Regions from separate parts of the Homo sapiens genome. Here region 1 is linked to region 2. Evidence: promoter capture Hi-C in 16 types of primary human blood cells and fetal thymus (Javierre and others, 2016). All regions are on one chromosome and are shown on one strand. Each heading gives the region's core, a stretch centred on a gene start or on the middle of the fragment in contact. The rest is flanking DNA. Distances are from core to core; before and after follow the strand shown. Region 1 overlaps TBCD (tubulin folding cofactor D). Region 2 holds the start of METRNL (meteorin like, glial cell differentiation regulator).

The links. The method cuts DNA at HindIII sites, captures the fragments that hold promoters and counts their contacts. A CHiCAGO score of 5 or more calls a contact.
Region 1: a fragment that was not itself captured here is called in contact with the fragment with the promoter of METRNL in region 2 in 1 of 17 cell types (total B cells); the score reaches 6.5 in total B cells.

The regions. Positions count from the first base shown.
Region 1 is chr17:82,818,690-82,822,509 of GRCh38, forward strand. The region is part of intron 13 of TBCD (tubulin folding cofactor D); the gene reads left to right. Among named protein-coding and RNA genes, the nearest start is that of ZNF750, 19 kb to the right of the region's middle. The HindIII fragment of the contact is 1,636 bases long and covers 458-2,093 here.
Region 2 is chr17:83,076,863-83,080,858 of GRCh38, forward strand. It overlaps METRNL (meteorin like, glial cell differentiation regulator), which reads left to right and starts at 2,747. Exons shown (of 4, transcript NM_001004431.3): 1 at 2,747-3,123. The coding sequence starts at 2,954. The HindIII fragment of the contact is 18,805 bases long and covers 1,582-3,996 here.

The DNA of each region.
Region 1 (3,820 bases), core at 26-2,525, 260 kb before region 2:
CCTCCATGTCACACGGCTGAGCTGTCCCTGCACCTCCTTGTCTCCTTGGAGAGTTACTGTGGTTCTCTGTCAGTTTGGTTTGAAAAGTGAAAACAGGCTGGGCACGGCGGCTCATGCCTATAATCCCAGCACTTTGGGAGGCCAAGGCGGGGGGATCACCTGAGGCCAGGAGTTCGAGACCAGCCTGGCCAACATGGTGAAACCCCGTCTCTGCTAAAAATACAAGGATGTGGTGGTGCATGTCTGTAATCCCAGCTACTCGGGAGGCTGAGGCAGAAGAATCGCGTGAACCCAGGAGGCAGAGGTTGCAGTGAACCGAGATCGCACCACTGCACTCCAGCCTGGGTGACAGAGCAAGATCCTGTCTCAAAAAAAAGAAAAAAAAGCGCGAAAACAAATGCTTGGCAAATAAATGTCGTAGAAAGACACAATATAGATGAGCATGTTTGATGACTAAAGCTTTTGTTTGTCTTAGAGGAAATGTGGAGCTTCATTGGTGCATGCTAAAGGAGGAAGAAGTAAAACTAGGGAAGTCAGGTGGGCAGGCAGTGATGCGATGTTTGCCTGGAAGGCACCCTGGGTCTTTCTGCCCTTAGTCCTCTGAATAGGGGGACTCTGCCTGCTGGACTCAGGAAAAAAGCATCGCATTTTCTTTGGGTTACTTTTTAGGGAATCCTGCTGATTCCTCTCCACACATACAGTGCACACACACACAGAATCTCCATCTGTTGTGCTGTAAGCCTATTTCTTGGTCTCTGACTCTGTGCACACCACCACGCCCAGCTAATTTTTTAAAGAAATTCGAAAGTAGCCTGCGCAACAAAATGAGATCCTGTTTCTACAAAAATTGTTTTAAAAAGGTAGTTGGGTGCAGTCCCAGCTACTCAGGAGGTTGAGGTGGGAGAATTGCTTGAGTCCAGGAGGTTGAGGCTGCAGTGAGCCATGATCGCAGTGCTGCACTCACGCGATCCTCCTGCCTCGGCCTGTGGACAGTGGGCCATGTTCTTTTTCTCTTTGCATCATCACCTCTGTTTGAGGACTACTGTTAAAGGGCTACTTGGTCTTTATTTTAGGTGATTCAAATTCCAGGACTTTTCTTGAGTGGTCCTGGCGTAGGTCCTTTCACCTTTTTTGTGGCTCCTCTTTGAACACCTCTGTTGTTGTGGCAGGAGGAGGTGGGCACTCCTCACCATGAGTAAGCTCCTACAATGTTTGTGAACCCTTACGGTTTCCTTTGTTGGATACAAGAAGCACAGGTGGGGGGATGTATTGGTTTAAGTTTACCTTTTTTTTTTTTTTCTTTTTTTGAGACAGAGTCTTGCTCTGTTGCCCAGGCTGGAGTGCAGTGGCGCCCTCTTGGCTCACTGCCAGCTCCATCTCCCAGGTTCAAGTGATTCTCATGACTCAGCCTCCCGAGTAGCTGGGAGTCAGGCGCCCGCCACCATGCCCAGCCAATTTTTTTATTTTTAGTAGAGACCAGATTTCTCCATGTTGGCCAGGCTGGTCTCGAACTCCTGACCTCAAGTGATCTGCCTGCCTTGGCTTCCCAAAGTGCTGGGATTACAGGCGTGAGGCACTGCGCCCAGCCAACTGTACTATTTTGATAAAATGTATACATGTGCTCCTTATTATGCATTTTGTGGTTTTCATCAGTATTTTGCTTTTTGAAAAATGTCAAGTGTTCTGATCTCTTTGGACATTTTGTATGAACCCTATTTCCCTTGCTATCCTTATTGATTGAGAATTGTGCATATTGATTTGGGTAATAATAACTAGCACTTGGTGTTTTTCTGAGCTTGGATGTGTAGATTCATGTCTTTCATCAAACTCGGGTAGTTTTCAGTCATTGTTTCTTCAGGTATTTTTGCTGCCCCTCTCCTCTCCTTGTGGGACTCTTGTTATGTTAATACACATGTTGGTACTCTTGGTGGTACCCTATGAGTCTCTTAGGTTTTGCACTCATTTCAGCTCTTGAGTCTTCTTGTTATGTTAATACACATGTTGGTACGCTTGATGGTGCCCTATGAGTTTCTTAGGTTCTGCCCTCATTTCAGCTCTTGAGTCCTCTTGTTATGTTAATACACATGTTGGTAAGCTTGATGGTGCCCTATGAGTCTCTTAGGTTCTGTGCTCATTTCAGCTGTTGAGTCCTCTTGTTGTGTTAATATACATGTTGGTAAGCTTGATGGTGCCCTATGAGTCTCTTAGGTTCTGCACTCATTTCAGCTGTTGAGTCCTCAGTTCCAGAATTTCTCTTTAGTTTCTCTTTTAATAATTTCTTTTTGAGACAGGGTCTTGCTCTGTCGCCCAGGCTGGAGTGCAGTGGTGGTATCACGGCTTACTGCAGCCTCAACCTCCCAGGCCCAAGCAGCTCTCCCGCCTCAGCCTCCTGAGTAGCTGAGACCACAGGCCTGCTGCACTGGAAAAAAAAATTGTAGAAACAGGATCTCACTTTATTGTCCAGACTGCTTTCAAATTCTTGGACTCAAGTGATCTTCCTGCCTTGGCCTGCCTTGGGATTATAGGAGTGAGCTGCTGTGCCCAGCCTGTTTTTATAATTTCTGTCTCTTTATCAACATTCCATGTTAGTTTAAATGTTGTTCTTTTGGTCTCCTTTAGTTCTTTGTCCACAGTTTTCTTGAGATCTGTGAGCATATTTTTGTCTAAGACTGAGCACAGTGGCTCACACTTGCTTCCCAGCACTTAACCTTTGCTTTAAAGCCTAAAAAGGAAGAAATCTTTGCATATGTGTTTCCCAAATAACAGATTTGAGGGCTGTGTTGGTGACATAGGTCTGTTTATACCCACTGTGTGGCTAAAGCAGGTCTCTGTTAAATTAGCATCTACAAAGCTTTTCTCCTGCCTTCCCTCAAACTTAGGAAGCTCCCTATGCAATCTTCAGGCTGGGGTCCTTCACTGCCCCCTCTCAAGGAGGCCTACCCCTTCCCCCAGAAGGTGCAGTCTGTCACCCCATGTCTTATAAAGTGTAATGGTCTGGTGTCCCAAAGCCACAGAGAAGCCCATTCTAACCTTCCTGCAACTTTCTGAAGGTTGGAGAGCATGTTTGTTTTACTGCTAGGAGGCTCAAGGTCCCTGTGAACCTGCATCAGGTAGTAAGCCCTGCATGTCGGAAATACAGACTGCCTAACTCTTATCTAAGGTGATGTTTTGAGAAAATTTTTAAATGTATAATACATTTTATAAATTTCGAAAAAATTTTAATAAACATTAAATTTTTATAAGTTTATATAAATGTTATAAATTTTGAAAAATGTACAGAGTTGCATTGGAGCACACGCTCTCAGTGTTCATCGAAGACGTACAAGCAGCGTCTTACGACGATGTTGCTGCAGCTGCCTTGGGGTCTTGTTAAAAGCACCATTCAGTAGATTAATTCCCACCTGTGGACTGTGTTTTCTGGCTTCCAAAAGAAACTGTCATGTTTTTCTCTCTGGATGACGAAAACTCTGCACGTACTTCCTATGACAAGTGCGATTGGCGCCCACTGCTCTTGGCAGTTGAGGTGAGGACACAGCGTTTCTGTGACGGTGAAGGGGACAGGGTTTGGAGGGAGATTCAGACATTAAACAAGGAAACGAAGGGAGCAATTTCAGAGAATGGATAAAGTCGTTAAGAAAATACAAAAGGGCGGTGAGATCCTCAGTGATGGGGCCAACCAGTGACTTGAATAAGACTTGGGGAAGACCTCCTGGGGCGACATTTACGCTGAGAGCTTCTACCGTGAAGGAGCCGAGCAGGATGGACTCCTGACCGCAGCATCTCAAAGAGGAACGAAGGCTCGCACGAGCTGGGACAGCGG
Region 2 (3,996 bases), core at 1,497-3,996:
GAAGCAGTCCCTTCCCAGACATCCAGGGACAAACACACCCAAGGCCCTTTCCTTGCAGACCCTCCCAGAGGACCAGGGGGAGGGCCACACACCATGACCAGCTGGGATCCTTTTGGTTCATAATCGGCCTCTCGGGGTCTGGTGGTACAAGGGGCAGTGTACCAGTGGCTGGGAACACCCCCAGACAGCCTTGACCACCTCAGCCTGCATCCTCTAGGAGCCTGATACCTCCTGACACCAGGAACCCCGTCTACAGGGGACGTCTCACCTGTAGGTGGCCTCGCTGGGCCAGGACAGGGGTCAGCAGAGGTGCCCAGGAGCACCCAATGTCTCTGGGGCATGAACCTCCTCAAGGGAACAGCTTGGGGAACCACAGCCCCAGGGTGGAAAGGGCCAGGCTCCTTTCCCAAGACAGATTAGCTTCTTCCGAGAATACTGGCCAGCAAGCATTCTTACTCTAGTTTTGTTTTGTTTTAATTAGCAGACTTAATGTTTTAGGTTTACAGAAACACCAAGCAGATGGTAGAGGTCCCCCACACACCCTCTCCCTGACCCAGTTTCTCTTATGATTACCTTCTCTCATTAGGGTGTAGGCGTGTGACAGTCAAAGAACCAATATTGATCCGTTATTATTACAAATGTCTCAAGCCTCCATCAGGATTCACTCTTGTGCTGTATTTTCTACGGGTTTTGAAAAGTACACGTGGGTCCCATACTCACCATCGTACGATCCCAGTCTTAGGACAGCCCGCTGGGCACAGGAGGCTGGGCATCCTGCCAGGTGGCAGATCTCTGCCCCAGCCTAGGCTGGAACCAGCTGCCTGCTGACCAGAGGCGGCCTCTCCCCTTCGGTCTAGCAGCCACCAGGGGCTCTGAGACCCTGAGCAGGTCACGGCAGGTCCTGAGTTCCCCATGTCCGCATCTATAACTCAAGAGATCCCAGCACTGCCCTGCCTCTTCCGTGGTGTGATGATCTGGACCCTGATAGGCCATGTGGCCCTTCAAGGGTGGACCGGGCCTGGGGGGGCTGCTATCTTATGCTTGGTGGGCATGGAAAGCAGTTGCTGCGCACAGGTGTGAAGCCGCAGGTCCCTTTCCACAGCAGGTCCCTTTCCACAGCAGGTCCCTTTCCACTGGGCACCCTGGTACCTGCAGTGATGGGGGTGGGGGGAGGTGCACTCCTAGAGCAGACGGGGGTGGGTGGGGCAGTCTCCAAGCTCCGAAATGCACCTCCACCAGACCTTGAGCCTCAGGGTGATGTCACTTGATGTGCTGGGCAAGGTCCTGGCTCCAGGCTTTCGATGGGGTGGGTGCTCTGAACAGATCCTTACAATGAAACTACCTTCAGTGGTCACTGTCATCGCCTTCCAGTTCTTCAGACCCTCACCCTTGTCCCAGCTTTCCTGGGCTGGGGGCTGGGCTCCACCTGCCTTTGCCGGTGACTTCCGTCCCTGCAGACTCACAATTTTCAAAGCCCTCTCCCCGCCTCCTCTGGTAGTCACAACCCAGTTATTCAGACTTGCACAGGTCGTTCGCAAGTCCTCCTGGAAGGTATCTTGGCTGGAAAAGGGGACAAGGCCAAGCTTCCCCACCGCTGGATGCTGCGCTCGGCTCTGGAACTGACACCAGGCGTCTCGGGCAGGGCCACTGACCCGCAGCACACAGAAGCCAGCTTTGCCATCGCAGCGGGGACCGCCGGGCGGGCCAGCTCCGCCCTCTCCTGCCTGGGGGGCCCTCGGCACCCTCTGGCTCCCCTTCTCTGGCCTGAGTCTCTAGGGCCTCCCCAGTCCGGGCGGGGGTCTCCGCTGTCCCCCCCACTGGGTCAGGCACGTGGTGGCCGCGGTGACCACCTGGGGAAGGCGCCGACTCCGAGGAACACACTCGAGCAGGACGCTCCGCAGGTGATTCTGCCCCGCGGGCACGGGGTGGGGGCGGGATTTGGCCAAATCTGCAGAGAGTTTAGGTTGTCAAAGCTGGGGCGGGGGTTGCTACTGATACCCAGAGTGCGGGGGCCAGGGTGCTGCCAACATCCCACCATGCGCAGGACGTCCCCACCCCAAGAACCACCCGGCCCCGCGTATCCGGAGCGAGGAGTGGGCAGCGCTCGGCAGAGGCCCCGGCGCGGCGGCTGCACGTCCTCCGGGAGGAGGGAGGGAAGCCGGGCTCACCGCCGGGCCTCCCCCCCGGTCAGGAGGGAGCCGGGAACTCCCGAGGCACCAACTCTGCGGAACGCGGGGCGCCCGGATCGCCCCTGATCACCGCCCGCTGGCGAGGCGCGGGGGACCCAGAACCGGCGGGGCCGGGAGCCTCCTTTACCGCTCCGCGCCGGGGCTGCCCGCAGGATGGGGCGCAGGATGGGGCGCAGGATGCGGCCCCGGCACCGCCTCGCGGGGGTCTGCGGGGGGCGACCGCGGCTCGCGTCGGCCACTACTTGGGGGTCTCGGGTTTCCGCCCCGCCCTCGCCTTGCAACCCCTCCGGCCCCGGACTCCGCTTTCCAGGCCGGGCTCTTCCCTCCGGACCCCGCTCGCCGCCCGGCGCGGCCCCCTCCTCCTGCAGCGCCCCCCGCCCCGGCGCCCGCGCCCCCGATTCGCTGCTGACTCGGTGTCTGCGCGTCCGGCCGGGCGCCCCGGGAGGAGTTTCCGGCGCGGGGCGGGGTCGGGGGCGGGGTCGGGGGCGGGGCGGGGCGGCGGGTGGGCCCCACCCCCCAGCTGAGCCCGGCCGGGCGGACTCGGACTCGCCAACTTCAGAGGCTCGGCGGCGGCGGCGGGCGCGGAGCTCTGCGCGCGGCTCCAGCGGGCCGGGATGGGCGGGCGGCCGCGCGGAGGACGCGGGGGGCGCGCGACGTGACCACCCGGACTCGAAGCCCGCCCCGCCCCCGCCCGGCTCGCCGGCTCCGGGGTCTGCTCCGGGGGTCGCGGACGCGGGGCCGGGCGGCGGAGCCGGCGCCAGAGCATGCGGGGCGCGGCGCGGGCGGCCTGGGGGCGCGCGGGGCAGCCGTGGCCGCGACCCCCCGCCCCGGGCCCGCCCCCGCCGCCGCTCCCGCTGCTGCTCCTGCTCCTGGCCGGGCTGCTGGGCGGCGCGGGCGCGCAGTACTCCAGCGACCGGTGCAGCTGGAAGGGGAGGTGAGTGTGCGCGGCGCGACCCCGGCCCGGCCCCCTCCCCTCGCGTCCCCTCCCGTCCCGGGCCGGCCGAGCGTGCGGGGGCGCGGCCGGGGGCGGGCGCGGGGCAGGGGCTCCGGGGGCCGCTCTCCAGGCCCAGTCCGGTGCCCGCTGTCCCCCGCCCCCGGTTCTAGAACAAAAGAGCCCGCGGCGTCCCGGTTCCCGGCCCGGAGGACGCCCGGGGGAGGCGCGCCTGCAGCGCGGCCGGGTGGGTCCCGGCTCCGCGCGTGTCCGAGCCTCGGGGGCCGCCGGTCCCGCGACCCCATCCCGGGGGCAGGCGGGGGTCGGTCCTCGGGCCCTTCCTGGCAGGCTCCGGGAGTTGCGCGCCCCGAGGCCGCCCCGGGCCAGAGCGGGAAGGGACGGCCGCGGGAGGGAGCGGCGGTTTCGGGGATCGGGCGCGGACCGCAGCGGGGGCCACTTCCGTCTCGGGGAGCCGCGGGCGGGCACCTGTGAGCCGGGCCGAGTGTGGCTCCGGCCGGGCCCCCCGCCCCTGCCCCGTGAAGGTCAGGCCGCCCTTGGCCGCGGCGCGCGCTGCGCTGGGCGACCCCCCCCCCCCCCACCCGCGGTGGCGGCCGAGGACTTTTTTTTTTTTTTTTTTTTTTTGACTCAAGCGTGGCCGCCGAGAGCGGCGCCGACCGCGACTGCCCCTCGGGAGCCGCCGCCGCTCCCACGCGAAGCCCAGGGCGCCGAGGGCACCGCGGCCGAACCCGCCCTGCGCGAGCCTCGCAGTCGCCAGTTCCGGGGTTCGCAGATGCGCGGGGACCCGAGTGACGCGCGCCTCCCGGAGAGCCGTGGCCGGGCTGGCCCGGGCCTGGGTCCCGCTTCCCCTCGGCGCGG